Linked DNA regions of Homo sapiens: regions 1, 2, 3 and 4 are each linked to region 5. The links are contacts of gene promoters, found by promoter capture Hi-C in blood cells and fetal thymus (Javierre and others, 2016). All regions are on one chromosome and are shown on one strand. The core of a region is centred on a gene start or on the middle of the fragment in contact, and the rest is flanking DNA. Distances in the headings are between cores, read along the strand shown.

The links. The method cuts DNA at HindIII sites, captures the fragments that hold promoters and counts their contacts. A CHiCAGO score of 5 or more calls a contact.
Region 1: a fragment that was not itself captured here is called in contact with the fragment with the promoter of PLAC8L1 in region 5 in 3 of 17 cell types (activated CD4 T cells, total B cells and non-activated CD4 T cells); the score reaches 6.6 in activated CD4 T cells.
Region 2: a contact is called between a fragment that was not itself captured here and the fragment with the promoter of PLAC8L1 in region 5, in 1 of 17 cell types (erythroblasts). The highest score is 5.4, in erythroblasts.
Region 3: a contact is called between the fragment with the promoter of TCERG1 here and the fragment with the promoter of PLAC8L1 in region 5, in 5 of 17 cell types (activated CD4 T cells, non-activated CD4 T cells, total CD4 T cells and 2 more). The highest score is 7.7, in activated CD4 T cells.
Region 4: a fragment that was not itself captured here is called in contact with the fragment with the promoter of PLAC8L1 in region 5 in 1 of 17 cell types (non-activated CD4 T cells); the score reaches 5.4 in non-activated CD4 T cells.

The regions. Positions count from the first base shown.
Region 1 is chr5:146,423,415-146,428,225 of GRCh38, reverse strand. No RefSeq gene overlaps it. Among named protein-coding and RNA genes, the nearest start is that of TCERG1, 22 kb to the left of the region's middle. The HindIII fragment of the contact is 4,299 bases long and covers 1-3,514 here.
Region 2 is chr5:145,822,730-145,828,065 of GRCh38, reverse strand. PRELID2 (PRELI domain containing 2) reads left to right here. Exons shown (of 7, transcript NM_205846.3): 2 at 4,932-4,989. Among named protein-coding and RNA genes, the nearest start is that of PRELID2, 9.9 kb to the left of the region's middle. The HindIII fragment of the contact is 4,641 bases long and covers 1,253-5,336 here.
Region 3 is chr5:146,445,310-146,450,723 of GRCh38, reverse strand. TCERG1 (transcription elongation regulator 1) reads right to left here and starts at 3,391. Exons shown (of 23, transcript NM_001382548.1): 1 at 3,316-3,391. The coding sequence starts at 3,374. RefSeq lists a silencer at 3,023-3,102 and an enhancer at 3,021-3,728. The HindIII fragment of the contact is 4,342 bases long and covers 1,806-5,414 here.
Region 4 is chr5:146,389,810-146,394,607 of GRCh38, reverse strand. No RefSeq gene overlaps it. Among named protein-coding and RNA genes, the nearest start is that of POU4F3, 53 kb to the right of the region's middle. The HindIII fragment of the contact is 974 bases long and covers 2,519-3,492 here.
Region 5 is chr5:146,102,974-146,108,075 of GRCh38, reverse strand. It overlaps PLAC8L1 (PLAC8 like 1), which reads left to right and starts at 2,499. Exons shown (of 4, transcript NM_001029869.3): 1 at 2,499-3,883. The coding sequence starts at 3,765. RefSeq lists a silencer at 4,204-4,404. The HindIII fragment of the contact is 7,482 bases long and covers 1-5,102 here.

The DNA of each region.
Region 1 (4,811 bases), core at 116-2,615, 320 kb before region 5:
TGCGTGGCACCACGCTCAGCTAGTTTTTGTATTTTTAGTAAAGACAGGGTTTCACCATGTTGTCCGGGCAGGTCTTGAACTCCTGACCCCAAGTGATCCACGCACCTCGGCCTCCCAAAATGCTGGGATTACAGGCGTGAGCCACTGCGCCCGGCTTCTCTAGATGTTAATATAGTTATTTAATGTATGCACTTTTTAAACTTTCTGATATTTCTGGGAAAAAAAAATCTTTATTGATACCCTGTAGCGAGTATGTACTATTAAAAAAAATAGTCCTTGAAAGACAAAAATAGCAAATGCTCAATAGCTTCCTCTTCTGAATAAAATGTATCCCAAACAAAATCCCAGCTCCTGGGCAAAATACTGGGACCCTCTGTGAACTGGTACTTGCCCACTTCTCTGGCCTCTCCACACAGCCCTCTGCTCCTGCACGGAGTTCAAGGACCCAGGGAGCACTTTTCTGTCTCTGGAGTTTACACCCACTTCTCTCTCTGCATGAAAAGCTCTTGGCCTCTCCTGGCACAGCTGGCGTTGTCACAACCTTCCATTCTTAAATTGCCTGCCATCCCCCTGTACCCCGTCTCCCCCACCCACACATCTCCACATTAGCCTGTTAACGTTCAGAGCACTTTCAACAACCTTAAAATGTTTCCTGTTTGTTGACATACAAAATTGGTTTCCTTTGGCAGATTGTAAGTTTCATGAGAACAAGCACCTGCTCTGTAATTTTTGCTACTGTACTCAATGCTTTGCACATCACCTGCACCAAGTATAAGCTGAGTAAATAGGTGTTGAAAAAGTAAATGAAAAAATGGAATGGTAATTGAAAAACCTCTCTCCTCTCAAACCACACGTTAGTCTTCATTTTCATCAGTAGAGGGCAGCAAAGACTTTGCATTATCTAACTTTTCTGGCGTTTCTGCCAGAAAACTTATTCTCCTTTGCCCAGTAGTAGACTCTGGTTGTCAGGAGTTTTAGGAAAATACTCAGCCTTACAAACTCTTCCCTCTCCTTATTTCTGGAGTTGTCTTCACTCTGAATTATTTACAGGTGTTTTTGTTTTTCTAAGATTTCAGGCTGACAATGTTCCTTAAGAAATGAAAGCACATGTATCTACTAAACCAAAAAAGAAACCCCAGTGGCCTGGAGCCTGTACCTGCCTGCCCGACGAATTACTGGGGGGAAAGATGCTTATATCATATCCTACAGCTGTTTAGGACTTAAGGCTCGGCAGCTCTCCCTTATGGTGTGTAGGAGGGGCAGGTACCAGAGAAGCAGCTGCTACTTGTGTTGTGAGCACTTGCAAGAGCAAGTTGTGCGTGGGTTTATGGTTCTGTCTTCTATTTGCATCTGTTTCTGCTTATTCCATCTTCTGTTCTACACACCCCTACCTTCCACTCCCCAAGGCAAGAATTTCACCATTCCCTGCCTTTGTGCGCTCCCATGGTGGCTTCACCCAGAGTACACCCTGAACCTGGGTAATCAGAAGTAGAATCAGTGTCCACCCTGTTTTAGAATGGTATTTTCACTCACCTTCTGTCCAGCAAATATTTAAGAGTCCTCCTACATATTAGGCATGGGTTTGTGCTCTGTGAATACCGATGCTCCATTTGGTGGAAAGGCCCATTACAGGATCAAAAGGGGAGCATGATTTCTCAACCTCAGTACTATTGAGATTTTGGACAAAGTAATTTTCTGTCATAGGAGCATTCTAGGATGTTTCGCAACACCCCGGCCTCTACCCATTAGATGGAAGTAGCATCCACCCCCCAAGCTGTAATAACCAAAAATGCCTCCAGACATTGCCAAAAGTGGGGGTGGGGAGGAATTCCTACCCCCAACCTTGAGAACCAGTACTTTAAGGGGATCATAGTGGATGCCGTTGGGATATCTTTGCGGCCTTACATCAGTGACCCCTTTCTCCTAATACTCCTCCTCCTTACCCACTATTTATCTGTTGTGACCTGAAGCCCATGGACTTGACAGATTGGACATCTGACCCAACTTAGGCTTCTCAGCTTCTCTCCTCTGGGAATTTGAAAGTAGGACCGAGGGACTGTCTACCACATGGGCTCTCAGCAGCGTCAAAACTTTAATGAGAATTCAGGAGATGTGGGTGGATGTATGATAATAACATTGGAGACCAGATGCGAAGATATTTGCTTATCTACTGCAGAGATAAGAATAAAATGCTCAGTAGAGAAACACAGAGACAAGAGTCAAAGAGAAGCCACCTGGTGCTAGCACTTTCTAAGGCCTGGCTACACTTCCTACAATTCTTGCCTTAGATAGTAAGACATTCCTGAACATTTTAAACTAATTCCTCTTTGATGCCAGGGCAGTATTTTGTTCTGTTACTGGCCAATAAGGAGTTCTGACTAGTCCATTCTATGTGGCCTGGAACTGAAATCTTAACCAGAAAACATCAGGGATCCAGGCAGCTGGGGGAGCCATTTCTAACCCTAAGGGCAGCTTCACTGACTCAGACCATGTGCTCTATTTCACTTTCCCTACCAAATGGCTTTCTCACCCTCTATCACTACAGGGATAGAGATGGTGTTTTCTTTTGTCTTAACCTTGGCTTATCCATGGCTCATGTCCTCAACTTCTTGTCCATTCACCATCAGCTGGACTGCTAACAGCACACACAAGTTGCGTTTCTAGGCTTAGTTTCCTGAGCGGGGGGAGTCTGGTTGGCTCCTGTGGCCAACACCGCTGGCTGCCCACTCAGCAACCACCCTCCTCATCAGGTTTGTTCAGGTGAACAACCTCAGGTGGTGAATACATCATTGGTTTGTAAGAGCGCTGAGAGGTAAGGGAACTTTTGCGGGGCTGGGGGGCGGATTATGGGAAAGAGTGTTATCCCTGATACGAGACGGGGAGGCCTGAGAGGGAGCTGGCCCACCCGCTTCCTGCCTGCTTTGGATGTCACATGAGGACATGATGCATGACGCGGTTGTACCTATCATGCACCCATGAGGCAAAGCCAAGAGAACGACAGAGAAACTGACAGAAGAGGGCGTCAACATCCTTGAGCTGACAAACTGACCAGCCCTCGAGCCACTTACCTTCAGACTTCTTGTTACATGAGGTATCCTTAAGGTTTAAGCTACTTTGACTCGGGTGTCCTGTTACTTGAAGCCAAGAGGATCCTGACCAATATAGAATAGCTCATCTTTTCAGGCCATGTGGCTTAGGTCCTAGGTCTCTAGCTGTGAATCTGTAGGTTGACTGCCTTGGGGCCAGGCATCCACCGGCAGCCCACATGTTTATGCCTCCCTAACTCCCAACCTTTTATTTTGAAAATGTTTAAACCTACAGAAAAGTTTAAAAAGAAAATACAATGAACTCTCAAATATCCTTCACCTGCAATCACCCATTGTTAACATTTCACTACTCTTGTTTATTGTACATAACTCCATATACGTATATGGGTGTTTTTCATAGACAGATAGATAGATAGTGGGGTTTGGGGGCTGAAAATTGGAAAGTACATTAAAAACTTTATGAAGCTTCACTCCATAGTACTTTGGCATTTACCTCCAAAGAAACAAGGACATTTTCCTGTATAACCAAATTGTCAATCTAATAGATTCAACATTGAGGTATTATCTAATATTTTAAAAGTCTTATTAAATATATATAGCTTTTCCCCCAGTACCACCCTTTGAAGCTTTACTTGTTTTGTTTTGTCTTAGTTTTGCCTTTGTTTTTGTTTTTATCCGGGATTCATCAAGAATCACATGCTGTTTTAGCTGTCACGTCTCTATAGTCTATTTTAGAACAGTTCTCTTGACATTTGCGGGGAAATGGGGAGAGGGCCTTCAGGTCAGTTCTTTTATAGAATGTCCCACAATTTGGATTATCTGGATATTTCTTCAGAATTAGATTTAGTTAAAGACTTTTAGCAAAAACTTCTACAGAAGTGATGTTGGGTCCCTCTCAGTGTTCATAACAAGAGGCATATGATATCACTGTGCCCTGTTATAGGTGATGCTAAATTTAATCCTCTGATTAAGGTGTTGCCTGCTAGAATTCTTCACTGTAAAGGTATATTTCCCCACTTTATAATTAATAAGTAATCTCTGGGATGGTACATGGAGGATATGAAAATATCTTGTTCCTCCACAACTTTTACCATGTTCTAGCATTCATTAATAAACTTTGACTGAATCAATTATAATGTTGGTGATTGCAAAAATCACAATTTTTCTAATCCTATCATTTCTTCCACATTTACAAGCTGGCATTCTGCTGTTTAAGCAAATGCTCTCCTCTCATACTCACCTTTTAATGTTCTTGAGTATCACTGTCAACTAGGAAAAATCATTACCATCGGTTTTCTTTTCAATTCTCAATTTGTCCCAAATTAGGCCAACGGGAGCCCCTTCCAGTTGGTCTCTGTGTCCTTCTGACATATGCCTGTTGGTTTTGAGTGCTTCTTTACTTATTTCACGATTCTGTAGCAGAGGAGGTCCCAGGCTCATCTTGCACTTTCTTTGCTCCAGACATTGAATCAGCCATTTCTCCAAGGAGATTCAGTTTCTTTTAGTGGAAACCTTCAGTTCTTAGAAAAAAAAATGAGTAGGAAGAGTGCTCTTGCTATTGGAGTCTCATTGCCTCTAGGCCCTTTCAGTAGACAGAGCCAGAAAGTATATTTTATTTAAAATCATTAATTTATCTGAATCCCCCAACTCCAATCCAATACCAGCAGTTCTTCCTCTTGTCCTCCCAGTCCATATTTTTATCTTTTTCATTTTTTTGAGACAAGGTCTTGCTCTGTTGCCTGGGTTGGAGTCCCATGGCAATAT
Region 2 (5,336 bases), core at 2,324-4,823, 280 kb after region 5:
ATTTCTTTTCATTTATAAATAATTTGACTTATAAAACATTTCAAAAACAATATTGCAGAAACAAAGAATTCCCACATACTTTTTTCCAGCTTCCCCAAACCACAGTATACTTTTTAAAACCAGGAAATTAACACTGATACAATGCTATTAACTAACCTATAGACCCTATTTAGATTTTGTCAATTGTCCACTAGTATCGTTTTTCCAGTCTAGCATCCAATTCAGGACCCCACATTGCATTTAGCTGCCAGTGTCCTGCAGTGTAGGACGGTTCCTCAGTCTTTCCTTGCATTTCCGGACCATGGTGATTTTGAAGAGTGCTGGGCAGTTATTTGTAGTGTATCTTTAGCTGCACTGGGTTTATGCATACATTTGATGTTGTGATAAGAGGATTTTCCTCTGTGTTACAATGAAAAACTGTCTTTTCAAAACCTTCACTATGCCGTTGCTGATTATTGGGTCATTTTTGAAAGAAAGAGGCTGATGTGCTGTTGGTTGGCCTTTGTTTGGAACCATAGCTTTTCCTGGCCAGAAGGATCTTGGATGATCACCTGGTGGTTCATCACCCCGACCTCACAGATGGCAGCGTTGTAGTCTGCATGTCTTGGCTCGTTGCCCTTTGTTCTTTCTATTTCATCATCCTATTGAAAGACCAATGAACAGCCATTCCAAATACTTTTCAACTTAAGTACGTTTTGTCCTTGATCATTGAAATTTTGATTAATTTATAACTCGTTTCGTCTTGGTATAAAATCAACTTTGCTTTTCTTCTGAGATAGACTATGGTGTGGAGCTCATAAAAGGAATTTGGCATAGCTCATGGTGATTTCTTTCTGCTGCTAAACACCAAATCTCTTTTCAGCAGCCCCATCTCTTTGCATGTACATGTTTGGCAGCAGCCTAGATAACAGATTCCCTTAATGCTTATAACACGGGTATGTTAATATACCAGACTTACTGTAGGTCTTCTTTGCCTTCTTTGAAGGACTCTTCAGACAGATCTGTCAGTCACCTGCTTCCTTGTACTCTCTCTGGTAACCTCATTTGTAAATTGGTAGACAGTGACTCCTTTGGATGTCACTGACTGTTTCTGAGAGGGGAAGCAAATGTTATTAAAAAAAGGCATTGGCTTTTGAGCTTTTTGGAAAGTTCATATTTTAATAACTCTTTTAAGAGTAGGCTTTCTGAAAGCTTATGGGTTTTTTTTTCCCTCGGCAAATATGAATGCAAAATGTTATATCTTCATGAAGCTTCTCCCAGAAACATATTGAATATTCTGTAATTAGATGGATTCAGTTTCTTGCCTCTAACTTTTTATATATATGTGTTTGCTTTAATGCATATTCCCCCCCAATATTATGGAGTTCTTGGCTTATCTTTTAATATGTAAAAACTAAAGCAAGCAGATACAACAGCTTTAGGCACGTCTACATTTTACCCTTGTTAGACTGTTACATACATATGATATATACAGTGGTATTTGTAGTAGTTTCATGTCTTCGGGAAAGGAAAAGGAGTTAGTTTACACGTTCTGTGAAGAAATTAAAAATTATAAGGAAATGCAAAATGAAGTCAAATATACCTTTAAAAATCCCTTAAATCATCCATAAAGTAGTATAGCATACATGGCATATGTATGCAGCCTGTGGGATCGTTCTCTTGCACACTGCAGTTTGTGATCAGCTAAGCCAGGATCAAGAAAGACAAGGGCTTTTGGCAGATATCTGGGTCTTCAGATCACATTGCTTTCATGAGAGTCTCTAGTATGAAATGGGGATTGAAGAATCCCATGTGAACCTGCTTGTCTGCGGGCTTTACACTATTATATTTATAGCAGAAATACTCTGTATATTAATACTTGATAGGTTTCCACGCTTTGAGAAGGACTGAATGAGATCATGCGCATGGCAGCTTCTCTAGGATAGCACCCTGCGTGAACACAGTAGCTGCTCAGTTAAGTCTTTGATGGGTGTGATCCTGATTCAGCTTGATCAATTCTGCAGTCATACTGGATTGTGTTTGAAAAGGTGTCCAGAAAAACCTGGCCATCTGCCTCCTGTCTTCCCAGGTAAGTGTTCCTGGTATTGACCTCTGAGAAGCCTTCCCTCTTTCAACTTTTTCTCATGGGAGTTTTGGTAAATTTTCATGAATTAAAACATGAATATTCAGGTTACCACAAGATGGCGTCAGATCATTTCAAGTAATGCCAGGTAGGGGGAGCCTCAGTTCAATAAATCTTTAAAGAGGTTGAAATATGTGCCTTTCATAGTATGGTAGTTAGCTATTGCAAATAAACCCCTACTTTCTTCTACTGTTCTTCTATGGAAACTTGAGGCTCTTGGCTGTTCAACTCCAAAAATTATGTAAGTGTGAAGTATTTGAGTTTATAATGTTTAAGAATTTCTCTGATAGCTTAGTGAAGTAATCAGAACTTGAAAAATTTGATCATCATGTCTCCCTGGTGTTTACATTTTCAACGTCTTTTATAGTTTAGTTATCTTTCTACAACTTATGTTGAATTTGTAATATTCAGTCAATATATATTTATGGGTATGTAATGAACAAACTAGAACTGTAGTAAACGAGATAAGCACATTTTACTTTAGTGTACAAGTTATAATTTATACACATATAATCACAATTCAGAGGACCTGTGTGAGTCTCAAATATCTCCCTTGCTTTAGGGGTACTGTGTAAGCGAAAGTCTCCTTTCCTGAGGAGCAGAGTATCTAAACCTGACCCTCTGTCATGGGCATGTAACTCGGAAGGGCTGAACTTCAAGAAAGCAATCACTGTAGTTCCAAGTTTTTTTTTTTTTTTTTTTTTTTTTTTTTTTTTTTGAGACAGAGTCTCACTCTATCACCGAGGCTGGAGTGCAGTGGCATGATCTCGGCTCACTGCAACCTCCGCCTCCCAGGTTCAAGCAATTCTCCTGCCTCAGCATCCTGAGTAGCTGGGACTACAGGCATGCACCACCACATCTGGCTAATTTTTGTATTTTTAGTAGAGACAGGGTTTCACTATTTTGGGCAGGCTGGTCTCAAACTCCTAACCTCAAGTGATCCACCCGCCTCAGCCTCCCAAAGTGCTGGGATTACAGGCATGAACCTCCATGCCCAGCCAAGCATTTTTTTTTCTAGGGCTAAAATGAGTGAATGAATGAATATATAAATAAATAGATTTTTAAAAACCAAGTTTTTCATCAGTTATCAAGATTTCAGTTTCCAGGATGGAAGTGTGAATGACAGAGTTTACCAACATGAAACATGAAGAGATATTGAGGTTGCTGAAAGCTGAGCCACTGCTCTCTTCATAGATTGGTTTCTGACTGAAGGCAGGCTCATTTTCCAAATTGATCCCTGAGGTCATTGAGGTTTATATTCCCAATTTTTTATTTATCCAGAAAATATTGACTGAGTGCTTTTTATGTGCCAGGCATTACGCTGGCTGTTGGAGATACAGGAGTAACTGAAATAGACAGTATTCCTGCCCTCAGAGAGCCTGTGTTCTAATCTAGTGTCTTTTTGGGTCACAGATATCTTTAAGAATGTGTTAAAATGATGAACCCCTTTCCCTGAAAAATCCATTAATAAATCAATATCACACACACACACACACACACACACACACACACACACACGCCTGCTGTGGGTGGAGACCCACAGTCAGAGTTTTGTATTTCACTTCCTAGGGTTCGGAAAACTTAAAGCTCAAGTTTGCAAAGTGAGGGGCCTTTCTTCTTTCTCCCCTCAGCCTGCCTGCTGCTTTTGCCTTCTGCTCAGCACTTTGTGATGTCATGGATAAGACTTCCTGCCAATTTTCTTTTCAGATTTGATCACATGATACGTCGGTAAACCTCAGGGAAGAGAGTCCAAGGGGGCTCAGTAGGCTTTGGTCAGCAGCTACCTTGTCCTGTGGCTTCTAGGAGGTCACTTCTGCTCCCAGTGTCTCTCTTTTCACATCTGAGTAGTGGAAAGGATTGTGTTAATTTAACTCTTAGGTGATTTGGTGGTAGGTTAGGTGGGCAGGCTTTGCAGGCTGGCAGAAAGTATCGGGGGTAAATTATGTTACCCCCCAGATACACTATTCATTAGCTGGACAATTTGAGCAAATTATCTAATTTGTCTAAGCCTTATTTTTCATATATGAAGTGGAAAAAATAACACATACCTTATAGAATGGTTTTGTGAATTAACTGAGCTAATGTATCTAAAGTATTTAAATTGCCTACGACAAAAGCAGTGGCTATTATCAACCTTGTCACAGCCAAATTGCTTTTCAGGGGAATTAAATTAACATGTTAAATATTTATTGAGTATTTACTATGTGCCTAGCAAAGCATACTTCTATGACTATGCTACTGTGATGCTAACCCAGCCACCAGACAATGATATTAGACCACAGTGAAGAGGTCCACTCTGTATTAAACAGGCCTGGTTTAATTCCCTGGCTCCACCAGGAGCCAGCTGGGTGACCCTAAGCAATCCAGTCTTCATTCAGTTTCCGTATCTGAAAGATGGGGATGGTGGTATCACATAAATCAGTTATAACAGAGAGGCTGTTGGATTTAGACAAGATTGTGCAAGGAAAGCATTTAGTACAGTGCCTAGCACAAAGAACACTCTTGATTTATGTTAGGCTGGTTCAATATTAATAGTATTATTATTTACTGATTAGCTTAACCTCATCCCCCTCAGGGCTAGTTGGATCTAAAGAAGGTTTTCCCCAGATTTCATGTAAGTCAAGATGATGATAGCATCTCACTTATCTAGGCCCAAGTTATAAAATTAAGATCCATGATTCAAAACTGGGCTTTGTTTAGAAGTTTCTTGGAAAATATTTACTAGTCCTGCAGACAGCTGTGGTTACTTCTAAATAGTTCACCTTGGTAGAAGATTAATGGTAATTCTTTTTTATATATTTTTGTTTAGTACCCCAACCCCATGGATAAAAATGTCATCTCAGTAAAAATCATGGAGGAAAAAAGAGGTAAGTTCTCTGTACAGTTTTTTCAGTAATGATCATTAAATGATAGTGATTTTTGTAAAGATGTGTGTACGTGTGTGTGTGGCCTATTAGGTTTTTTTTAAAAAATTGTTCACCTGCAGTTTCTTCCATTATTAGTTTTTAAACAGGTATATTTCTGTACTTGAGGTGACTTAGAAAGGTGTGGCAGGTAGAGCACCAGGATTTGTGATAGTAAAAGGCCTGCTGATGCTTTTTGTCACTTTCTAACTAATAATTGATGACAACACTGAGCTATATATAATTGTAACTGCTAACATTTTTGAGCACTTAATATGTGGCAGGTACTCTTATTAATTCATTTAATATTC
Region 3 (5,414 bases), core at 2,142-4,641, 340 kb before region 5:
TTGAATAGCCTGAAGTTGCCATTTTCTGATGTTAATTACGCACAGAACATGGGCTGGGCTCTTTATATTATACTGCTTCATCACAACAACCTCACCAGAACCTGCAATGAGGATTAAATGAGCTAATAAAGTACTTGGAATAGTGCTTAGTATGTAAGTGCTATCTAAGTTATTAGCTATCATTACTGTTTCTGTAACATTAGGACAGTAATAGTACTGGTAAGTGTTAAATAATATTAATATTAGTAATGTTAGCTATTATTACTATAATTATTATATCAGGCCCTGTATAACCTGGCCCACATTAACCTTTCCACAAATTCTAGTCTTTTCCTTTAAATATTTCAAGTTTATTACTTTGAAGCCTCTGCACCTGTTCTCTTTGCCGAGCATGTTCTTCCCCAGATTTTCACATAACTAGCTCCTTCTCATTACTCAGCCTCTAGTTCAAATGTCACCTCAAACTGTTTTCCCACTTCTGGCCTCTACAGGCCCTCTCAGGATCATTATTCCTAATTTGAGTTTTCGATTATGATAAATGCTATGAAGAAATCTCCCATTTACTTCTGTATTATCTTTAGCCACTAGTATATAGTTCCCTTTAGTATACTGTTGCAACACATTAAAACACATTATTGTTTTAATAATGATAGTAAAGTTCCTATATACCAGCATGGTTATACAGACATTATCCGTATTAACTCTTAATCCTCACTACAGCCCAATAAGGTAAGTTTGACACCATTTTTACAGAGGAAATGATAGCACAGAAAAATATTTTCTTAAGGCAGCTAGTCAGTGATAACACCAGAATATTCTTATTCTCATTTTATAGATAAGGAAATTTAGATTGCAAGTATCTTAAGTATTGATAGGTAAACAAAGGCTCTAGGGAAAGGATCTATACAAATGACTCTGGAAGTTACTTTAATGGTATTTGGAACGTCTATAAATTTTCCATCTATTGTGATTTGCATTCCTACCACTTACAACCTTTCTGAAAAACAAAAGCCTACTTGCATGAATAGAAGGAACAAAAATATTTCACAAGAACATCATGGAAATACAAACATAAGGTATTTTTCTACAATAGAAGTTCTCTATCCAGATATGCAATCTCCCCAATGCTAAAGACAATACTTTAACTGGAGGGGCAAGAAATAAAAAGATGCTACCGATATATGGGGGCAAATTGTATAAACTATGATTGAGGAGACCTGAGGTTTAGTCCAGACCCTGCCAACTACCCAGTGACCTTGTGTAAGTCACTTCACACTTACAGGCAGATTTAATCATTTGATGTGGTTGATTTCATTTACAATTTAGATGGCTCTTACTTAAGCTGGAAGCTCCTGCAGGACAAACCTCTTTTTTCGGTCTGGTTCAGGGCACTATTACCAGCACCTAGGTCAGCAACTGTCATGTAGCACACAATAAATGTCGGCCCAATAAGTGAAGTATCTTTAAATCTCCTATCTTCATTTATTTACAACATAACTACAGAACATCTCATTTGCCAGGCGGTTATGACAGACACACCATGAAGTACATTCAGGTTACAAATATAATGCAAAAATTAAGCCCCAACTTCTGCCATCAAAGAGGCCACATACACACCTAATTTCATGAGAAATGCTAAAATAAAGATCTGTACAGTATGCTCTGCAAGCAACTTCCAATCCAAGAGGCTACGGTATAAAATATTTGCAACAGGGCAAATTCATTTGCAAATTAAAGCTCTATTCAAATCAGTTGTGCAACAGTGTCTAGACTATTAATAAAGCCATTTGGATTTTTTTAAAGCTTTAGAAAGATACTTTCTAAAATGCAAAAGAATGTTCCCTAATAAATCCATCTGAAACTAGCTAAGTAACCTCCCTTTAAGATCGAAATCAGGAATAAACTTGGCATCGCTAATATTTAAAGATGCTGACAATTCACCTTGATCACTCATTAATACTGTATACATATGGAGTTTAAAGGATTTCAGATTCATCTCTGAAATAAAACAAAATTTCATTTCTGCCAAAGTGGAGATTTGTGTGTGCGACCATACAGAATCTGAAAGGCATTTTCCTCTTCTAAAACCTTGAATAACAATACCCATTTCCTTACACAATTTCATCTTAAGTTCAAGACAGTATCAACAGAGTCTTCATAATCTACCCTGCTCTTTTTCATTTTCAAACGTTGACAACAGCACAATTCAGAATGGGAGCTGAACATCTGAAATGCCATTTCTCCCATACAGAAAAAAACCAAAGTACCAAATACACATAAAGCATAATACCTCTTTTCCTCAAAAACCACTGACCAAAAGATTTCTCCAGGTCACTCTCATTTTACCAAATTTTAATTACAAACTCATAGACACTGAGGTTCCAGGGGAAAAAAAGGTCACTGCACTGTTCAAGGAAATGGCATGAGTAGTAGACGAATAGAACGCCAATTGGGATTGCAGGCTCTGAAACCTGACTGCCTGAGTTCAAGCCACTTCCTGGAGCCACAAATCCGCCTATGCAATCTTATTCTACTGACTCAACCTCCACGAGGCTGTTATCTCACCTGTAAGATGGGCGAGTAACAACTGAAGACCCCTCTGGTCTGTGGCCTGCAAAATGTTAATAGCAACTACTCCAAAGGGTGGTTGTGAGGATTAAATGAGACAAACCTAAGTAAAGGGTTTACTGGCACACGGTAAGTGCCTAATAAGGGGTTGCTACTGTTGTTGTTACTCACAACTACAGGATAATAAGGAATAAAGGGATGAAAAAAGGAAGAAAAGCCACAGAAGTTAAGAAAGGCAAGCAATGAGGGGGATGAAATGAAAGGGCAAACGTGGGGAGCCCAAAGAGCCGCGGAGGGCGTGGAGAAGGCTTAGCCAGAAGTGGCGAGGGGTACAGGGAAAGTAACTGCGGAGTGCAGAGACGTCGATGAGGAAAATCAGGCCCGCAGCGGAGCGCGGCCTGGGGACAGACTCAGGTCGGCCGAGACGGAGGCGACACGCGGCTGAGGCGGGGCCCAAAGGCGGGAGCACCGCGCCCGGCCAGAGGGCTGCAGGCCGCGAGAGGCGGCGAGGCCCCAAGAAAGCACTAGGAAGCAGCCAGGGAACGCGCAGGAGGCCCTGGCCCAGCCCGGGCCCGGCTCTCATTCAAGCCACCTTCCCCTTCCCCCTTCTTAAACCCCATGCGGTCCCGGCCCGGGCCGCCCGGCTCCGCTACCCACCGTCCGCCCCGGATCTCCACATGGCAGGTCTAGCGTCTAGCCTCTGGGGCTCTCGTGAGCAGAGATGTGAAGGAGGGCAGCGTTCCTTACCTGAGCTCCCCCGGGTTGAATCGTTCACTCTCGCCCCCGTCCCCGCCACGCTCCGCCATTACAGAGGGCCGCGTTCATCCACCCGCCGACCCGACGTCTCCTATTGGCTAGAAAAATCGTCAATCCCCAACGAGAGAGGCGGAGACAGCAGAAGTCTGAGATGCGGTTGGTCAAACTTTCCATCAATCTTCGAAATGGGGGCGATATGTTCTTTGCTATTGGGCAAGGCGCCCGCCGACTTTGAAAGCGGTATGAAGACAGCCAGTTGATTGGTGACTCGGGGGCTTTATGGGAAATGAGATTTTAGCAGTGAGGAACCGCCGGCGCCCTCTCGCGGTAAGCAGAACTAAGTCCTCCCAAGTTCGGCTCAGCCTGCGGTAGCCACGTGTCTGTCGGCTTCCAGGAGAGCCAATTGTGGAGCCATATTGGCCAGTAGTAGCTCAGGCGGAGAGCATTTCCACTGGGCAAGCCAATCAAAATCGACCTGGGCCGCGCCTAAACCGATTGCACAGTTGCTGTGGAAAGCCGCTATTTCCTAGCTTTACAGTAGCAGGAGTCTTAAGTCACCACTCAGCTCTATATCCATGTTATTAAATAATATATTATTAATTACAAGAATACCTCCCAAATTATACTAAACCGTTGCAAGCCAATAGGTGTTATAAGTTGCTGCATTAAGAAAGGTAAATTGGCGAAGGCAAGCCTCTTTGCAATTTACAGCTTAACCACGTCTCCCTCGATCTCAAAATGTGCTTGTCTGAAATTAGCACACCCAGAATACCAGACAATTCTGAATATTTATTTAGTTTTTCTAATTAACAAAAAAAAAAGTTTTGGATTTGGGGTTTCAAAGGCACAATGAAGATGAGCCCTTTTATTAAAGTCGTAAAAATATTAAAATAATACTAATAGATAAATTTTACTTGGACCTAACCATGTAGCAAACCCGGATCTAAGTATGTCAGGTACGTTAACTCTTTTAAGATTCAAAAATTGCTAGGAGGTGGGTAACATAGTCACTGTTTGTAGATGAGCTTGAGGCACAGAGAAGTTAAGTAACTTGCCCAAGGTCACACATCTACTAAATAGCAGAGCCTGGTCTTAACCCCAGTCAGCGTAGTAGCAAAGCAGCACTCTTAAATACTGTAAGCCTAAATAATTGGATCCACATAAAAACATGTGCACAAATGTTCACAGCAGCAATATTCATAATAGCCAAAAAGTATTGTAACAACCCAATGACCATCAGCTGATGCATGGTTAAGAAGCATGGTATAGGCCGGGCGCGGTGGCCCAAACCTGTAATCCCAGCACTTTGGGAGGCCTAGACGGGCGGATCACGAGGTCAGGAGATCAAGACCATCCTGGCTCACACGGTGAAACCCTGTCTCTACTAAAAACAAATAGCCCGGCGTGGTGGCGGGCGCCTGTAGTCCCAGCTACTCGGGAGGCTGTGGCAGGAGAATGGCGTGAACCCCGGAGGCAGAGCTTGCAGTGAGCAGAGATCGCGCCACTGCACTCCAGCCTGGGCAACAGAGCGAGACTCCGTCTCAAAAAAAAAAGAAACATGGTATAACTGTACAATGAAATATTGTTCAGACATAAAAAGCCACATACAAAAAGGCCGCCTGTTGTATGATTCCATTTACATGAAATATGATGAAATTGCATTGCATTTCAGGCAAATACATACAGACAGAAAGTAGAACAGTGGTTTCCAGGAGGTAGAGGGGAATGAGGAATTGGAAGTGACTGCTGATGGATATGGAATGTCTTTTTGGATGATAAAAATGTTCTGGAATTGGCGCTGATGGTTGCACAACTTTGTGAATATACTAAAACCCATTGAATTCTATACTATTTATTTATTTATTTACTTATTTTGAGAGGGAGTGTCACTCTGTCACCCAGGCTGGAGTGCAGTGGCATGATATCAGCTCACTGCAACCTCCGCCTCCCAGGCTCAAGCGATCCTCACACTTCAGCCTCCCAAGTAGCTCCCACAGGCCTCCGCCACCACATCCAGCTAATTTTTTATATTTTTGGTAAAGACGGGGTTTTGCCATGTTGGCCAGGCTGGTCTTGAACTCCTGAGCTGA
Region 4 (4,798 bases), core at 1,756-4,255, 290 kb before region 5:
CTTGGGGCAGCCCTTTCATTGCTGTGGGTCTCTGCTTCTCCTCTCAGTGAAATGGAAATCAAATCTCTGTTCTTGCCCTCTCTCCAGGGAGGTATTGTGAGGAATAATAAGGCAATGCCTATAAAGTGCTTTAAGTACTTCGGGGAAAGACGTTGGCTAAATACCAAATGATAATAATAACACCGTCATCATCATTCACATTATTATTCATGGGTTGAGAGGAGAAAGCGGTTGCTGATGGTGTCTTTGCTCTGTGGGAAGGAGGACTTCAGGCCCCAGGATGTTCTATCAATAAGTCAAAGCCAATAAATACCGAGCACTGGAAGTGGAAGTTATCTAGCCATAAAGGCTGAATGTACATGCCCATTTGTATTTGAAATGACAACAACCGATTCTATTTCTCATTTTTTATTTTTATAGCTAGTGCTCAGAGCAGCTAGAAATGAGGGGAAATTGCGTTTCTTTTCAGGAGGATGGGGGAGCAAAGGGCTCTTTTATATATATATAAGATTTTACTACCCACCACTCTCTTCTTAGAATGCTTTTTTTTTTTCTACTCCTCCCAAATCCTCACCTCTATTATCCATTCCACTTATTTCTGAGTCAAAGTTCTAATCAGCAGACAGGTTTTGTCAGTGGTAGAAGATGAGCAGAGAGGATCAAAAGTGAGCCATAGGGAGAACCAGACTCAGAGCTTAGAGAAGAGAAGGAAGATGCTCCCTCTCCTAAACCTCTGATCCAAACTCATTTGTTCATCAAAAAAGAGAGTCACAATGCTTCAAGCACTGTGCTAGGCACCAGAGCTAGGTTGGTGAACAAGAAACAGACCCTGCCAGAATTTCAGCCCCTTAAAATCCTGCAAAATCAACTTTGGTGGCCAGGTAAGATGGCACCATTCAGTGAACAGCAAGGCCTTTATCTGGCAATGTCACTCTCAGGGGTGATAATGTAGTATTACCTTGAGATGCATCAGCCCTGAATGAGTCCCAAGTTTACATTTCTGGTTCTAGAGAAAAGTTTTTTCACCACCACCCGAATGAGCAGTGTATGGTCAGGAATCCACAAGATCGTTCCCCAATGCATACACATCTTAAAGCATGTGGCAGTAAACGCTGTAGACTTCAAGAAGACAAGGTTTCCATTCAAATGCACTGCTTTCCTCTTAAATTTCTCTGACACCCAGTTTCTTTATCTGCAAGTTGAGACTAAAAAGAGTGGCTCCATATACTTTCCAGACGTGCTGTGGGTGTGAAAGGAAATGATGAAAGCAAGGGTAGCTGTGAAGTTCTACTCAGATGGAAGTTGGGAGCTGTGGCAGAACTGCTGCTCACGTTGTGCCAGGTACCTTTTTGGATGAACAAGCCCCTGGAACTGTATCTGGAGATTTAAGCACTCAGCCAAGCTGCCTGGGCAATGGTGGACTTGCTACGTTCTGTTCCAGGAGCCTGTGGGTACTGAGGGAATAGGAACTCAGCTTTGTTATCTTTTTTATTTTCAAATTTTATACAAACCGTATTTTTTTCTCGTTCTAAAAGTAATATATAGGATCTTTGTAAACAAAAAGTTCAGACAATAAAGATATAAGAAGAGATTTTAAATATTACAGAGTATTGCCTTCCAAACTTCTTGGTGTGCATTCACACACATATTTTTTCCCCCAAAAGATGGGACCTTTATTGTTTTACAATCTGCCTTTTTGACTTAAGAATGTGTCCTGGCCAGCTTGCCACCTGACTTATTTAAAAGGCTCTCTGACCAGGTCTGGAGCTCTCTTCTTGAGACATAGCATCCCCTTTGAGCTCTTTCAGCATCCTTTAAGGTCTCTTTGATGGGGTTCAGTCACTCCCAGTGGCTACAAAAAATGAGAAACTTCCCCCAGCTCAAAGAAATCCAAATCGGGTATATTTACAAGCCCCACTTGCTAGGTTCTGAGACATTGACATCTTGTCATTTTTCCCCCACTTTTTCAAATTTCAAGTTGCAGTTTGATGTTGAATTAAAAATGTTGCCAGGGGCTGCCTGCAGGGCCCTCAGGCTAAAACAGTGGCAGCATCTGCCAGGGGAGACCCACAGGTCCTTCTTCAGACCATGGCAACGTACAGCTGGCATCTGAGCCCAGCAAAGGAGGGGAGAAACATGCATGTGAAAGGAAATTCAACGATCACTACTTTTTTTTTTTTAAGCCGACATCGTCAAGTCTTACCCATTTTATTTGGATTTTATGACTTAATGCCCATGGGGCATTTTGTGATCAGATTTTTGCAAAAGGGTGAAGAGATTGCAGCAACTTGCAAGAGAAAGGTCAGACCTTGTTAAACAATGCAATTGAGAATGAAAATAGGGGCTCCACGTACTTTCCAGAGGTTAAATGCCAGTCCTCATCTTAGGACCCTGGATGAATCACATGAAGGGGACAAGCATGGAGTTTATCAACAAATTTCTTTCATGCATTTGGGGTGTTTGCTGAGAAGTTCAGATGAGAAAATGCATGTGGACATGCTCTGGAAACAGGGAAGCTTTCTACAGATGAAGCCCTGAAGTCCTCTATATGCTTCTTTAAGCACTGGCCTGCGAGGACTCATGTGGAACTGGAGACAAGAATTGCCTCTAGAAAGAGGAGCTGGGTTGCTGGGAGGCAGCAGAGGAGGGGACACTTATTCTTCACTCTAGATCATTTCCTTTCTTCTGCATTTTGTACCATGTATCTGATGTACCTTTCAGCATAAAAAACAATGAATCAACAAATAAGTACTTTAGCTTAAAGGACTCTTGGGCCCTGGAAACATTCTTTAGGAAAAATACTCTTTGGCAGTGACAGCCTTTCCTTATGTGTGAAATCATGCTAAAGTCCACTAAGTCTTTTCACTGAACAGCACTAATGGCTTCATTCTTTCCTATAGAGTACTTTTTGTTTAAAAATAAAAAAGAGCATTCAAATCAAAGAACCAGCAAAAGTCTTCCATTATTATTGTCTTTATAATAATGTGCTATGTATTTTCTGACCGTGGAAAAGAAGTGATAGCCTCAGATGGCATACGTGGCTATTAATTAATGAGACTGGCTTCTGCACAAGTCTTGTGATTGTCACTATATTACTTATGCTATACCTGTTATATATGAGTAATATTATATATATTATATACTCATTACTATGTCATTCTAGCTCATTCTCAATCCTAGCTGTGCTGCCTTGGACATTTACTAGCTGTGCTCCCTTGAACAAATTACTTAACCTTTCTGAGCCTTCGTTTCTTCATATGTAGAACGGGTGCTAACAGTAGGAACTGCCCCAAAAGGTTGTTATGAGTTAAATGATACTGCCTAGGGCCTGACACAGTAAGTGTTCAACAAACACCATTCTTATTATTAATGTTATTTTTATTACAACTATCTTTGGAGATAAACAAATGTTGAAACCTCAAACTGATCCATAGGTGTGTTGGGGAAGAACAATGGCTGTAAAACAGAAAGGAAGCAGTGTGAAAGAAAGCTTATTGTCTCAAGGTCTACAAATCTTATTGAGCAAATCCACACAATTCTCATAAGCAATACCTTGCTAGGTGGCATGCCTCTCAGAGTGTCTTTATCCTGATTTTATTTTACTACCCTTCCCATCATATCTTTCTCCCCTACATGTTGTCTTTCACAAAACAATAATAGAGAGAGCCATTGTATCCTACGAATGCCTGAGATTTAGCCTTTCACTTCTTTAGATTGAGAGCTGCTCCTGGTGATGACTGTGGTAAGTGATGAATGCTGGGGGAATACATGAAGAATAAAGGTACCTAAAAATTGCTCATTCTTTTTTCATTCCTTCAACAAATAATTATTGAATGTCTGCTAGTGGCAGACACTCTTTTAGAAAAGTTGTTCTCAACTGGGGACTATTTGCGCCCCCCAGGGGACATGGGGCAATGTCTGGAGACAGTTTTGGTTGTCACAACTAGGAGGCGGTGTGCTACTGGCAGCTAGTGGTTAGAGGTCATGGATGCTGCTAAACATCCTACAATGCACAGAACAGCCTCCTATGTCAAAGAGTTATGCAGCCCAGAGGTCAGTAGTGTCAAAGATGAGAAATCCTATTCATTCTAGAGGCTTGGGAAAATTATATCTGAAAGCAAAATTCCCTGCTTTTGTAGAATATAAATCCACAAACAGTCAGAAAATAGACTGTAAAAAGGATAAGTAAATTAGAAAGTGATGTTTTGTTTTTTTAAAAACACAAAGGTAAGCAGGGTAAAAAGTATGAGTGCTGGGCCTGGGGAATGTTATAGAGGATGTTCAGAAGGGGAGGGGGTGAGATTTGAGCACAGATTTAAGGGAAGTGACAGAGATAGGCAAATAGATGCCTGTGGGAAGAGCATTCCAGGCAGAAGGAAGAGCCACAGCAAAGATCCTAAGGCACAGTGGCCTGGCATGTTCACATAACATCAGGGAAGCCAGTGTCTTGAATGCCATGAGCAGGGAAGAGGAGTAGAAGATGAAGTCAGAGAGTGGGCAAGAATCCAGTCCACGCAGGGCCTTGTGGGCCACTGCAAAGACTTCAGTGTTTACCCTGAGGGAATGGTTCTGAGCAATGATTTTGAGACATACTCTGACTTCTATTAGCTGCTCTGTTGAGAACAGAACAAAGAGGGGCAAGGGTAGAAGCAAGGGAACCTATTTGTTAGGTGGCTATTGTAAGAAATGACAATATCCTGGATTAGGGTGGTAACCGTGGAGGTGTAAGAAGTGGGCAGATATATTTTGAAGACAGAGCTAACAGGATTTGCTGATGAATTGGAGTGAAGAATAACAC
Region 5 (5,102 bases), core at 1,250-3,749:
TGATCTCCCGGGCTTAAGTGATCCTCCTGCCTCAGCTTCCCAAGTAGCTGGAACTGCAGGCATGCACCACCATGCCTGGCTGGTTTTTTTCTTTAATCAAGAAATGTTTCTTGGATTCTTTCTTGTATGTGCTTTTAATATAAAATTAAAGCCATTCATTTCTCTTTATATTCAGTTTTATGGTTTGCTTTTTCTTTTTATCTGATTTTTGAATAAGTAAAAATACATGATTCAGCCAGATGTGGTGGCTTGTGCTTGTAATCCCAGCCCCTTGGGAGGCTGGAGTGGGAGAGTTCAAGACCAGCCTGGGCAATATAGTGAGACCCTGTCTCTAAAAAAAAAATTTTTTTTTTCAAATTAGCCAGTTGTAGTGGTTCATACCTGTAGTCCCAGTTACTTGGGAGGCTGAGGCAGGTGGATCACTTGAGTCTAGGAGTTCAAGACTGCAGTGAGCTGTGATCATGCTCTTTAAAAAGAAAAAAATCTGCCAGGTGTGGTGGCTCACGCCTGTAATCCCAGCACTTTTGGAGGCCAAGGCAGGTGGATCACAAGGTCAGGAGATCAAGACCATCCTGGCTAACATGGTGAAACCCCATCTCTACTAAAAATACAAAAGAAATTAGCCGGGCGTGGTGGCGGGTGTCTATAGTCCCAGCTACTCGGGAGGCTGAGGCAGGAGAATGGTGTGAACCCGGGAGGCGGAGCTTGCAGTGAGCCGAGATCGCACCACTGCACTCCAGCCTGGGCGACAGAGCGAGACTCCATCACAAAAAAAAAAAAAAAAAAAAGAAAAAATCTTTTTTTCTCTTCCTTTTTCTTCCCTCCTTCCTCTTTTGCCCCTCTTCTTTCCTTGCTCATGTAATACTATTGTAAAGGTGTACCTTAGTTTATTCAACCAGTCTCCATGGATGGACATATAGGTTGTTTCTAAGTTTTTAATATTTTATAGAATGTGTATGGAATGATATAGTGAGTAACCTCATGAATAATGTCATTTCACTTTTGTGGAGGTATATCTTCAGAGTAAATTTGTAGAAGTGGGCTTGTGGGTCTGAGGGTAAATGCATATGTAGTTTTGTTAGCACGTATGTGGTCAAAAGCATTTTTTGCCCTGAGGCAGGGGCATGTAGCTGGTGTGCTGAAGGAATAGCAAGGAAGCCACATGAAGAAACAGGTCAAAGTCACTGGCTCAAGATCCTATGTATTAGCAGCAGAGTTGAATTAGAGCCCTGGCCTCCATCTTCATTGCACTTAGACAACAAAGAATTCGTGCATGGAAAACAGGAATGTATTTGACCAAGGCCAGTGTTACCAGGGCCATTAGGAGGTCAGAGAAAGGAGAAGTTTATATGGACCCCAGTCAGGTAGAAAATACTTCACCCCAAAATTTACAGCATCAATAAGATTTGTAATGGCCCTCTGCTGTGCATAGAGCTTGTATTAGTGTGTTTTCTTTTCTTTTTCTTTTTTTTTTTTTTGAGACAGAATCTTGCTCTGTCATCTAGACTGGAGTGCAGTCGAATGATCTTGGCTCACTGCAACCTCTGCCTTCCAGGTTCAAGCGATCCTCTTGCCTCAGCCTCCTGAGTAGCTGGGATTACAGTGCCTGCCACCACGCCTGGCTAATTTTTGTATTTTTAAGTAGAGATGGGGTTTCACCACGTTGGCCAGGCTGGTCTGAAACTCCTGACCTCAGATGATCTGCCCGTCTCAGCCTCCCAAAGTGCTGGGATTACAGGTGTGAGCCACTGCATCTGGCCTAGTGTGTTTTTATACTGCTATAAAAAACTACCTGAGACTGGGTAATTTATTTAAAAAAGAGTTTTAATTGACTCAGTTCCACAGGCTATACAGGAGGCATGGCTGGGGAGGCCTCAGGAACCTACAATCATGGAGGAAGGGTGAAGGGTAATGTTAAAGATACATTTTGATCACTTCTAGGACCTTCTGATGTAAAGGCATATTTGTTAAAATCACACCCAGAGCTTTTATTGTAAGGGTACTTTTTTTTTCTTACACTTTCAGAACTTTCCAATGTAAATATGCATTTTGAGTACTTCTGGAATTTTTCATAGTTAAGGTACATTTTCTCTTTTGCAATTAGAAATATGTGGAATAGTTATATTTTTGCACCTTGAGAATATTTGGTTCCTAATCTTTTTTATCTAATGGTTTTAATGCTTCTGAATTTCCTTCCTGATATGTTGTTATGCTGGGGCTATGCAAAATGGTGATATTCTAATGCTATTATTTCTTTTTCATAAATATTTGGCATTCTTTTATAAAGCACATGCCTTTTCTATTCTTTTCATTTTATTTTTAAATGAAAAAGCTGTGTAGCATGTGGATTAGTCACTTCATACAATAGACGTTTGATTAGAAAAGTTGGGCGCAAATGAAATGTAAAAATATGGAGTCATAGCTTATATGTACCATGGTGGTTTACTCTTCAAAGGAATCTTACTGTAAATCTTTTTTTTTTTTTTTTTTTTTTTTTGCAAAGCTAGTAATCACCTCTTAATTTCTGTTATTCTTATAAACCTGAATTTTCATGTAGGGCACATTTATTCAACAAATTATTGAGTGCTTTTTATGTGCCAGACACTGTGGTCAGCACTTGGAATAGAGTAGTAAGCAGAAAAAACATACCTGTCCTTAATGTAGGGTACATCCTTACTGTTAAGAAGACAATGACAGTTGCCCAGAACCCCATGATTGAAGGCAGTTATGAAGCTATGTCTGAGGAATCTTGATTTGGAAGGTATTATAGGCTTTTCCTAACAACCTGGTTCAATAAATGCTTTGAAGTTCAGAACCCTAAGCAACCATTCTCTATGGGTCTGATGAAAAGAATATATGATATAATTGGCAGTATCCTCCTGATGTCTTTCTAATGTAATGTCAAATTATGATTGCAGAGCCCTTTCCTCAACGTGAAATTTTGCCTAATTTTTTGTCTTAGGATATTTCCTAATATTTCTAGGGTCCACACCTCCATAAGACATGTGCCAGAGGCATGATTCAGAGGCTCCTGAGACCTTGAGGATTCAGAGCTGTTGTGAGGACATCACCAGGCAAGCCTTGCTTCAGTTACTAGATTCCGTCTGGACTGGGTAGGAAAGAAATGCCACTTTCCTGGCATTATCAATGAAGTTAATGGAAGAGCAGAGAATTTCTAGAAGTTCTGAAAAGGCTTTGAGGCTTGTGACAATCTACCATAGCTCAAACTTGAGGAGACCACCTTTCATAAGATGGATTCAAATACAATACCTGCGCTGAAAGACTTTTTTTTGCTCCTGCTTTTGGGTTGGCTATGGGACTTGCATCATCTGGCTGAATTGGACCAGCAGTTCAGGGGATGAAGAGAGGTCTCTGCTGCTTCTCAGTCACATGGCATGGCAGAAATTTTCAGCCTTCTGAATCTTCCAAGGAACGGTCAAGTGGCACTTAGCTAGATAAATGTTTACTAGAGGCATCTCTTAAAGAGTTTTCCACCAAAGATAAGTCTTTTTCTTCTATTTACTCTATACTCCAGCAATATCTCCCTACAGATTAGTAAGATGAATGTGTCCACAGTTAGGTGTATACCTGTTTTTAAAGAAAAAAGATGTCTGTTAGTTACACTGCTATGACCTCAGGTTCCAGAATATTAAGGGAACATTCTTTCAAGAGATGTTTCACTTTGGACTAATCCGAAGTTTAGAAACCAGCTTATTGCCAAAGGGAAAAAGGATAGCCCAAAGGACAAGAAAACACTTCTCACTATGAATTGGTTTGGAAGTAACTTCTTCAGGTGTCCTGAGGATCTTTCCTTACTCAACATATACTCACCTCTGTTGTCACACATGTCATCTGAAGATGAACATTTTATTTCCAACTTGAGGTAGGGAATAGGGTGAGTTTTTCCCCTAGCTTTTGCTCTTTAGTTGGACTATCGAATCAACCTCTACTTATAAGGAACCAGGGAAAAGAAAACTGGGCTTGGGAAGAAAGTGGTTGCTATCTTTTCTCCATGCAAACTTGAAAAGAGGGCAACTGATTTGTTCCTTCTGGCCTTTCTTGGCTGGTGACAAGAAAAGGGCTGGCTTGGGTGAAATGGTATCTCTTTATTCTTAAAATGTTGAACCCTGACCAAGTGGAACTTTATTTTTAGAGACTGCCAATCATTTCCACCCTTTTGAAATGAAAACTCAAGGGTTTTGGCTTCAGCTGAGTTTGAAATAATCAAGGAGGCCTAGGTACAAGGCAGAATGATTTCACAATACTCCAAGTGTGATTACGGAAGAGTGACATGTAACACCCCAGGCTGAAGAACCAGGCATGTGGGAGACATGGTAGGGCTTGTGCTAGAAGAGGAAGAGGAATGGAGTGAGGTCAAAAAGAGGGAAAAGTATGTATCTCATCCATCAAACTTTAACAGGAGTTAGCCTCCTGCCTCCTGAGTTAAAGCCTCCCTCACCTTCTGAGGGTTAGGATCACCAACCATCTTGGTTTGCCTGGAACTGTACTGGTTTTAGCACTAAAACTTCCCTATCCTGGGAAAACCCTTGGTCCTGGGCCAACTGGAATGGTTGGTTACCCTGACTGAATCTTTTTTTTTTAAGAGATGGGGTCTGAGGCCAGGCGCAGTGGCTCATACCTGTAATCTTAGCACTTTGGGAGGCTGAGGTGGGCAGATCACCTGAAGTCAGGAATTCGAGACCAGCCTAGCCAACATGGTGAAACCCTGTCTTTACTAAAAATACAGAATTAGCTGGGCGTGGTGGTGCATGCCTGTAATCCCAGCTATTAGGGGGGCTGAGGCAGGAGAATTGGTTGAACCCTGGAGGCAGAGATTGCAGTGAACCAAGATCACACTACTGCACTCCAGCCTGGGCGACAAAAGCAAAACTCTGTCTCAAAAAAAGAAAGAAGAGATGGGAGTCTTGCTCATGGATTTAAGCAATCCTGTCACCTCAGTCTCCCTTGTGGCTGGGATTATAGGTGTGCATCACCGTGCCTGGCCATCACTCTGACTGAATTTTAAGGCATTTGGGTAGCACATATGACAACTGAAAACCTGGTCCAGTTCTCCTTTCTCCTTCCTTTGTTTCTGAGAAAAG